Regions from separate parts of the Homo sapiens genome. Here regions 1 and 2 are each linked to region 3. The links are contacts of gene promoters, found by promoter capture Hi-C in blood cells and fetal thymus (Javierre and others, 2016). All regions are on one chromosome and are shown on one strand. Each heading gives the region's core, a stretch centred on a gene start or on the middle of the fragment in contact. The rest is flanking DNA. Distances are from core to core; before and after follow the strand shown.

Region 1 (2,700 bases), core at 137-2,636, 170 kb after region 3:
AGCCTTCCCCCATCTGATACTCTCATAAATTGCTCATTCTTTAAGTCTCAACTCAGGGATCCCTTCCTTCAGGAAAGCACTCATACTGCCTATCTGTACCTCATATATATCCCCAAATGGAAATGTTCTTATTGGAATGAAACTATTTCTTTGCACATGAATCTCCCCTCTATAAACTCCTTAAGATGAGGGGAGTGACGCATTCATGACTGTATTCCGTGTCTCTAATACAGTGACTAGCACATGGTAGACATTCAATACATGTATATTGAATAAATCAAACATTAAGACTTCTTGTGACAGTTGTAAACCCCAAATGGTCATTTTTACCCCGATTCTCTATGGTTACTAATAGTAAAAACTCCAGGAAACCACCTGGAGAGTTGCCCTCTTGCTTCAGGCACTAGTGAGGAGAGAAGTCTGGAAGCCATAGCCCATTGGTCCTGGACAAGAAGGAGAGTAAACACGTGGAAGAGTGGGTGGTGGAGCTGCACAGCAGCAGGCGAGCAAATATGCAGAGTCTGGCCAGAGGACAAGAGGTCAGCCAGGCCCAGAGCTAGCCTGGAAGTCTATGCCCTGAGGAGATGTTCAAGAGTCTGGTGGAGTTTGGAGACATAAGGACACTAAGCACCAGCCTCCTAAGAGGACTCCCTGCCCACTGTCCTCTCTCCTGCTGCCATTCTCCACAGTGCAGCCAAAGCAATCTTTCTTAAAGACATATCAGATTTGCTTAGAGTCCTTCACTTGCTCCCTATGATTTTCAAGATAAAGTTGAATTTGTGACCTGGCTCCTGTCTACTGTCTTTTCTCATCTCCCCCGACTCTTTCTCATTAGTACAGCTGATGCCAGCCTGAACAATACAGTCTCCTGAACACGTCCTGGTATTTGTTCAGCAGCTCTTTCCTTAGGCCTGGAGTCTCCATCTGCACACCTCATATTATCCATTTGGCAAAGTTTCATTAGTTCTTCAAGGCCCCTCCTCTGGGCTTCCACAGCACTCATACGCCACCTGCTGCAGCACTAGTTGCTGATGTGTCTCCCTATCTAGACTGTGACCACCCTGGGAACAGGATTGTCTCTTTTCTTTGTTCTCTGGGCCTAGCACAGTGCTAGGCTTACAGTAGTTAAATAAAATCTTGAACATATGAATCAAGGAACGATCTGTCACACACCTGCTGATCCAATCACCCTTAAAGCCAGATAGCTAACTTAATAAAACCCAACCTGATCATTCACTTCCCAGCTCAAAGAAATTCAGTGATCTCCTCGAGGGCAGATCAAGACCATCCTGGCTAACACAGTGAAACCCCGTCTCTATTAAAAATACAAAAAATTAGCTGGGTGTGGTGGAGGTGCCTGTAGTCCCAGCTACTTGGGAGGCTGAGGCAGGAGAATGGCGTGAACCCAGGAGGCAGACTTGCAGTGAGCCCAGATCATGCCACCGCACTCCAGCCTGGGCAACAGAGCGAGACTCCGCCTCAAAAAAAAAAAAAAGAAGTTCAGTGAGCTCCTTTGCTTCCCAAGTAGTCCTAACTACTGCTTTGTGTTCAAGGACTTCTGCAACCTGGCCTCAGAGTGCCTTTCCAGTTTCATGTTCCCTCCATTTCTCCAGGACTGACTTGCAGCCAGTATGTGTCTTTCTCAGCCTGTCCAGGGTTCCTGCCTCTTCCCCTGAGAGGCCTTCCTGCTCTGGATATTGAGATAATTCTTGCTATCTCTCATTCTCATGTCTGAGACCAAATGGCCTATTAAGGCTCAGCTCTGAGGGCAGGGATGAGGATTTCTTCCAGCACAACCCAGCACTTGACAAGCAATGGAGGGCCCCATAAATTCTGGTGTCTTCTTTGGGGAACAGAAGCCACATACGTATGTAGAATCTCCATCTCTGCCCTGCAGAACAGCTTTGAGGCTTTCATTTCCTGACACCACAAATCATTTCTCCACTAGATCCAATCTTAATTTCCTCACCTGCCAAGACCATCTGCCTCAGCTCTTGCACCCTGCTTTCTCATCTTCTCATTAACCCTCATCCTCTGCACAGATTTTGGAGCTTACAACATAGGGCAGAACCCTCTAGCATAAGTCACCATCAACAGATGACCTTGTAAGGCTTGGTTCCTGCTCTGAGGTCCCCTGTGGCTCTCAGATTCCCCCAACACTATCTTGCTATGTGCCAGGCCTACCCACCTGCAGGAAGCAAGTTCCAGGCTGGGTGCCCTCAGGCAGTGAGGCATTGTAGAAAGTCCTCTGGAATTGGGGCTCATTATCATTCACATCTTGCAGGGCCACGCTAACTGTGGCAGAGGAGGCTAGAGGGGGCAGGCCACCATCTGTGGCCACCACAATCAGCTGTGGCTGAGGTTCCAACTCATAGTCCAGTGAGGCAGCCGTAGTGATAATGCCTGAGGTGGGGTCAATGGAGAACCAGTGGGTGTGGGCGCCAGGGGCTAGGCTATAAGTGACCTGACCATTGGTGCCTTGGTCAGGATCCCGAGCAGTCACCCGCACTACAAAGCTGCCAGGCAGCGCAACCTCAGGCAGGGGCTCAGGTCGGTAGAGCTGGCGGTCAAAGGCAGGTGCATTGTCGTTGACATCAGTGACGTGCAGCACAAAGGCAGCCTCAGCCCGCAGTGGAGGTGAGCCTGAGTCTGTGGCTGTAACCCTCAAGTTATAGGCATCCCTCTCCTCTCGATCCAGCC
Region 2 (2,700 bases), core at 72-2,571, 240 kb after region 3:
TCTCGCTCTGTCACCCAGGCTGGAGTGCAGTGGCTTGTTCTCAGCTCACTGCAAACTCTGCCTCCCAGGTTCAAGCCATTCTCCTGCTTCAGGCTCCCAAGTAGCTGGGATTACAGGTGCCTGCCACCATGCTTGGCTAAGTTTTGTATTTTTAGTAGAGATGGAGTTTCATCATGTTGGCCAGGCTGGTCCCAAACTCCTGACATCAGGTGATCTGCCTGCCCTGTCTCCCAGGGGGCTGGGATTACAGGCATGAGCCACCATGCCCGGCCTTAAAACTGTATACTTTTTGATATTTTTCTTTAAGTAATCAGTTTAAAATAATCAATGAATCATTTTAAAATAACCAATCTAATTGAACCTTGTCCACAGACTTCATTAAAATGGTACATTTTATTTGGTCATCATAAATTTTTTTCCAAAAGCCAATTCTCAGACTTGTACATAACACCAAGCTTTGAATAACAAAGCTTTGTGACTGTTTTTTTTTTTTTCTTAGCATGCGCAGGGAATTGCCAACATACCAGGGAAGAACAGGGTGAAAGTTAATGAGAAAAACAGTTATTTGATTTCTACTTTCCATATTTGCTTGATAATGTTTCCTGAATTGATGACATCCCTATCTTGGTCAAGTCTCTGCTTTATTCTTTCCTAGAACAGAATATGCCTAAATATTGCTATGCTTGGGACTCATGAATGTTTTTACATTTAAAGATTAATAACTTTTCCTTAAAACTTTAGAGGGTGAAAAAAATCCACTTAAACATTGAAAAGTCTGGCTGGGCTCAGTGGCTCATGCCTGTAATCCCAGCACTTTGGGAGGCCGAGATGGGTGGATCACTTGAGGTCAGGACCAGCCTGGCCAACACAGTGAAACCCTGTCTCTACTAAGAATACAAAAAAAAATAGGAGTGATGGTGTGTGCCTGTAGTTCCAGCTACTCAGGAGGCTGAGGCAGGAGAATCACTTGAACCCGGGAGGTGGACGTTGCAGTGAGCCAGTTTATAGCTTTCAGTCAAGACATGTATATTGGTTGAAATACTGATACAGTTATTCTATAGAAATTTGTTGCAGCCTGAAATGATTTTGATTTTTCTCTGTTAAAATGACTTTCTCTGATACTTAAATATTTTAAAATAAAAAAGCAATATCTAGAATAATAGTTTAAAATACAAAATAGGTTTCTAAAATGAATGTTATTTGATTTCATCATATATTAACAGATTTTAGTAAGTTGTTTTTAAACTAGAGGAATTGAGGCAGAGAGAAATGAAGTCCTTTTACTGGAAATTTTCATCTCTTAATGTGTTAATTGATTGATTTTTACACATTTCATTTTAAACATGGAAATGATGAAGGTTCTAATTGTAATGAGTAGTTGTTTTTGGATTGTTCAGGTACACTGCCTCTTTTCTTCAGACACTGGGGCTCTTTTGTGGTCACTGAGTATTACTGTTTTTTCAAGTCTTCAAGCACATCTTGCTTTGTGATTTTGGCCCATGCATTGGGGATTTTACCTTTACCTGCAAATTTTTTCTGATATTTTTCTTCTAGATTTGATCTGAAGTGAGAGACAAACCATTTCCAGTATAGCTGGATGGAGGTATCTGGGGTGATGCTCCACATGGCATAATCCCCTCCTGCTTGTCGATAGTTCTTAAATGGGAAATTCCTGCCATCCCTCAAAACCAACAAACAATCACTTGCAACCAAACTAGTACAGCAATCAATGACAAAATCATCTGTTTCATACCATTCCTCCCCATTGACAGCCTGAGGACGGTGGAAGGGAACACTATGGTCTCCTTCATGTGTAGGAATTGTGTTTGTACAAATTGCTCCACAGCTGGGACACTGTTTCCAGCAGCCACAGAGATGTTCAGAGAGCATTTTCTCAATTTTAGAAACCATTGCTTCTATAGGCTTACTTGAATAATTCTGTTCTATTTTCTTCATTGTGAGATCCAAAGCTGCACTCATGGCTTCTTTAAGAAATTCAGTATGTTTTATCTCCTGGTGTTCAATGCTTATCAAGTCCCTTCGTGGAAAGATCAAGTTGCACCCCAGGCAATCACAGAATAAATCCAACCACTCAGAAGCAGTGCTGCTTTTATCTTTAGCTACTGATGTGGATTCATGGATGGCAGAGAGGATGGTATTCTTGATATCAATTAAGCTTTTTTCAAAAAAAGTCTTCATTTTTTCACCTCCATTGTCTGAACAATATCTTTTAATATGATTTTTGATGTAACTCCTAAAAAACGATTTTGAATTATGAAGGTATTCCCAGTAATTATCAAAGTTTTCTTCTTCTGCCAGAGAGAAGAGAATGTGTTTCTCCAGGTTAGTCCTGTTTCCATTGAACGCAGGGCAGGTAGCTCGCATGTCCCCCGCAATTTTAAAGGTCATGTCCTCCCATATAGTAGTGGAGACTGCAGGAGTGAGCTTATACCACAGAACATCAACAAATGTTTTGATGGAGGTTGCTCCTTGACAGGAGATCTTAAAACTCGTGAAGAAATCATCTTTCTTACTTTCTAGGTAGTTTACAGGATCATTTGCTCTCTTGAATGCCCTGTGCATTTCCTTAAAATTCTCTCTTGCTCTTTGAAATAAACACACACATAAGTCAATGATAAATGTATTTGTAAATGTGTATCTCTTCTGAGTAGAGGCAGATTTCACTTCTTCTTCTATTGT
Region 3 (2,700 bases), core at 173-2,672:
TTTCTGCTTTTCTGAACCTGGGCTATACTATCCCAACGATGGACTCTTTGCTCAAGTTCTCTCGGCAAGAATGCCATTGTCTCCTAAGTGGCTGTGGCAGTACCTGGCACACAGGAAGTACTCAGTATATGTTGGTTACAGGAGAGCTCTGTTTAAATCTCTGCAGTTCCCTTTCATCAGAGAGAGATGCAAAAGTAATGGCAGTAACAAGACAAGTGAATAAAGTCCCAAGAAGAGAGACCTCTGCTTAATATAAGGAAGCTTTTCCACAGCAGAAAGTAGCAAGTGCTCTGTCACTGGAGGCATACAAGCCCAAGGAGGCAGGGCTACTGTCAGGCCTGCAGCTCTGATTCCAATTCTGCAGCAAATCATCCCCTGCTTAGGGGATGAATGGGCACCAGTGAGCTAGACAGACTGGCCAAGGGAGACCTGTGATGTTTTCTGCACCTGCTGTGACCTCCCAGATGTGATCTTCCTGCTAGGGCCAGTCCTGAGTTTCTGTTGTCCACATCAGAGAACCCCCACACCAAGAACAAGCCCAGGGCCTGCCCTCAGTCGAACTGACCTCCCTGGGGTGCAGCCTGCCCCTCCAACCTGCAACCATCTGTCCCTGCAGGTTTGCAGCCCAGGATCTGAAGCCAATTGCAGAAGGGAGGAGGTCAGAACCAGGGAGGGGCCTGGGGTCCTCCAGGCAGGGCTCAGGCTACAGGAGAACCAGAGGGGTCCTTTCCTACAAAAAAACAGCCTCCACATGAGGCTTTCTGTCCACAGAGCAGTGCATGGGGAGGAAAGGGTGTCCTCCATCCTGACTGGTGGGCCTGTGGGTACCAGAGGATGGAAGGGGCGGGGGGTGGGGTAGGGTGGGGGTGGGGGAGCAAGGGGTGGAGGTGTCTGCACCAGGGAGAAAAGAGCCCTTCAGACAAGATGGGCCACAATATTCCAGAGTCCCACTCAGCACGCACCACCACCACCACCCTCGGCCGCAGCGTTCAGCACCCTCCGCCAACACACACAAGCTCCCAAACCCCGCGCTCCCCTAAGGAACCATCACCCATCCACCCGCGCCTCCCCGCCTCAAAACAGGGACCTCACGTGAGCAGCCACAGCCCGAAGAATCCCCCTGCTGCTCTCACGGACATGGACACGCCTCACGTGGGCAGAGAGAGGCACAGCTTTTGAAAATCATCTGTGCCCCCACCCACAGACGCTCCGACCCAGACCCGGGCTGACAGGAATACAAACGCACCCTTGGGGCCCGCCCGTCGCACTCACCGCGTTGGAACAGGATGCGAGGGCAAAGCTCGGACTGCGGCCACTCTGAAGGGCCCGCGGCGCTGCTACTGCTGCCAGCGCCCGTCCGCCCGGCCCTGCCCGCGCCTCCGCCTGTCCCCGCGCCGGCGCCGCCGCCGGACTAGCCGCACAGGCCGGAGGGAGGGGCCGGGGCGGGGCTGCGGACCGGCCGGGGGAGGGGGTGACTCCAGTAGGGAAGACCCACCCACGCCCCGCCCGCCGCCGCGGAGGCCCCGCCCACCCCGCCTGCCCACCCCTACCGCACCCGCACGCCCCCCCGCCAACGCCTCCACCTCCTGCGGACGCTGCCTCCTTGGTGCTGCTAGGGAGCCGGCGGGCCGGCGAGCCGGATCCCGGATCTCGGATCCCGGATCTCCGCCAGCTGCCTCCGGCTCCGGGAAGGGCGGTGTAGTCGGTCTCAGGGATTGAGATGAGACTCCGTCAAGAAAAGGCAGCTGGGGCAGCAGGGATTTCGGACTCTGGGAGCCTGTCTGGGCCGCCTGCCTCCTGGAGGCGCCCTTTCCGGCTTCCTTGGAGTGCTCCTATGGAATATGCTAGTCTATCGGCTGACCAGGAAGACGTAGAAACCGTCTGTACCTCAGCACGATCTCTGGGCGGCAGAAGGGCAGTACCCAGAACTCTGGGAGAAGGAGTTAAGGGGTAGAAAGGTGGGGGATTTGATTAGGCTTTGGGCGCTTCAGGAGCCCCCTCCTGAGGAAATTCTGGTTCAGACCATCCAGCGACTCCCTTCCTCACACCAAAGACACTGGACAATTCTCAGAATCATCGCCTTGTGCAAAAAGCAGCCCCAAGTGGAAAATAATTGTAACAGTTTACAGGGACTGAGTGGTTATTATGTGCCGACACAGAACTAGCCACTTTACATATATTATTTAATAGTCAGTAGGTAGCATCTTTTATTAGCCCAATTTTACAATGGGAAAAAATAGGGATCTTGCTCCCCAGACGTTAGCCCTCATCACTCAGCTAGAAAGTGGCAGAACCTGGAGTTGAGCCCTGTTTTTAGGCCCTACAACCAGCATTTGGAGACTCGGTACCTTTCATGTTGAAAAATCCCCAGTGGCCCATTAAGTGGCAGCTCATATAAGGACCACCTTCCCTGCCCCAAAAATCAAGCTCTAGTCAGATGATTGCAGGCTGATCAAAGCCCAGAAGACTGTCTGGGAGCTGCAGTATCCATGACAAAGGGCAAAGTCATGCCTGTGAGGATCCCTGCACTATGGGAATCTGCTGAGTGGGTCTTCCCCTTCCTCCAGCCTTCCAGAGGTGGGGAAAATCCTGAAAAATTCTGGTTTCCTTGGCCAAAGGGCATACAGGTGATGACACCTAGCCCTGACTAAACCAAAGTGCTGTTAGGGATCTTTCTTGTGACCTCTCCACAAGGTTCAG

What was found. Contacts are between HindIII fragments. The CHiCAGO score rates a contact against its expected background, and 5 or more counts as called.
Region 1: a fragment that was not itself captured here is called in contact with the fragment with the promoter of TRIM3 in region 3 in 1 of 17 cell types (neutrophils); the score reaches 5.3 in neutrophils.
Region 2: a contact is called between a fragment that was not itself captured here and the fragment with the promoter of TRIM3 in region 3, in 2 of 17 cell types (activated CD4 T cells and total B cells). The highest score is 6.6, in activated CD4 T cells.

Annotation. Positions count from the first base shown.
Region 1 is chr11:6,637,629-6,640,328 of GRCh38, forward strand. It overlaps DCHS1 (dachsous cadherin-related 1), which reads right to left. Exons shown (of 21, transcript NM_003737.4): 2 at 2,189-2,700. Among named protein-coding and RNA genes, the nearest start is that of DCHS1, 17 kb to the right of the region's middle. The HindIII fragment of the contact is 8,749 bases long and covers 1-2,700 here.
Region 2 is chr11:6,713,162-6,715,861 of GRCh38, forward strand. It overlaps the pseudogene GVINP1. Among named protein-coding and RNA genes, the nearest start is that of MRPL17, 31 kb to the left of the region's middle. The HindIII fragment of the contact is 1,706 bases long and covers 469-2,174 here.
Region 3 is chr11:6,472,519-6,475,218 of GRCh38, forward strand. TRIM3 (tripartite motif containing 3) reads right to left here and starts at 1,423. Exons shown (of 12, transcript NM_033278.4): 1 at 1,273-1,423. RefSeq lists enhancers at 84-1,023, 1,024-1,962 and a silencer at 1,320-1,549. The HindIII fragment of the contact is 3,557 bases long and covers 260-2,700 here.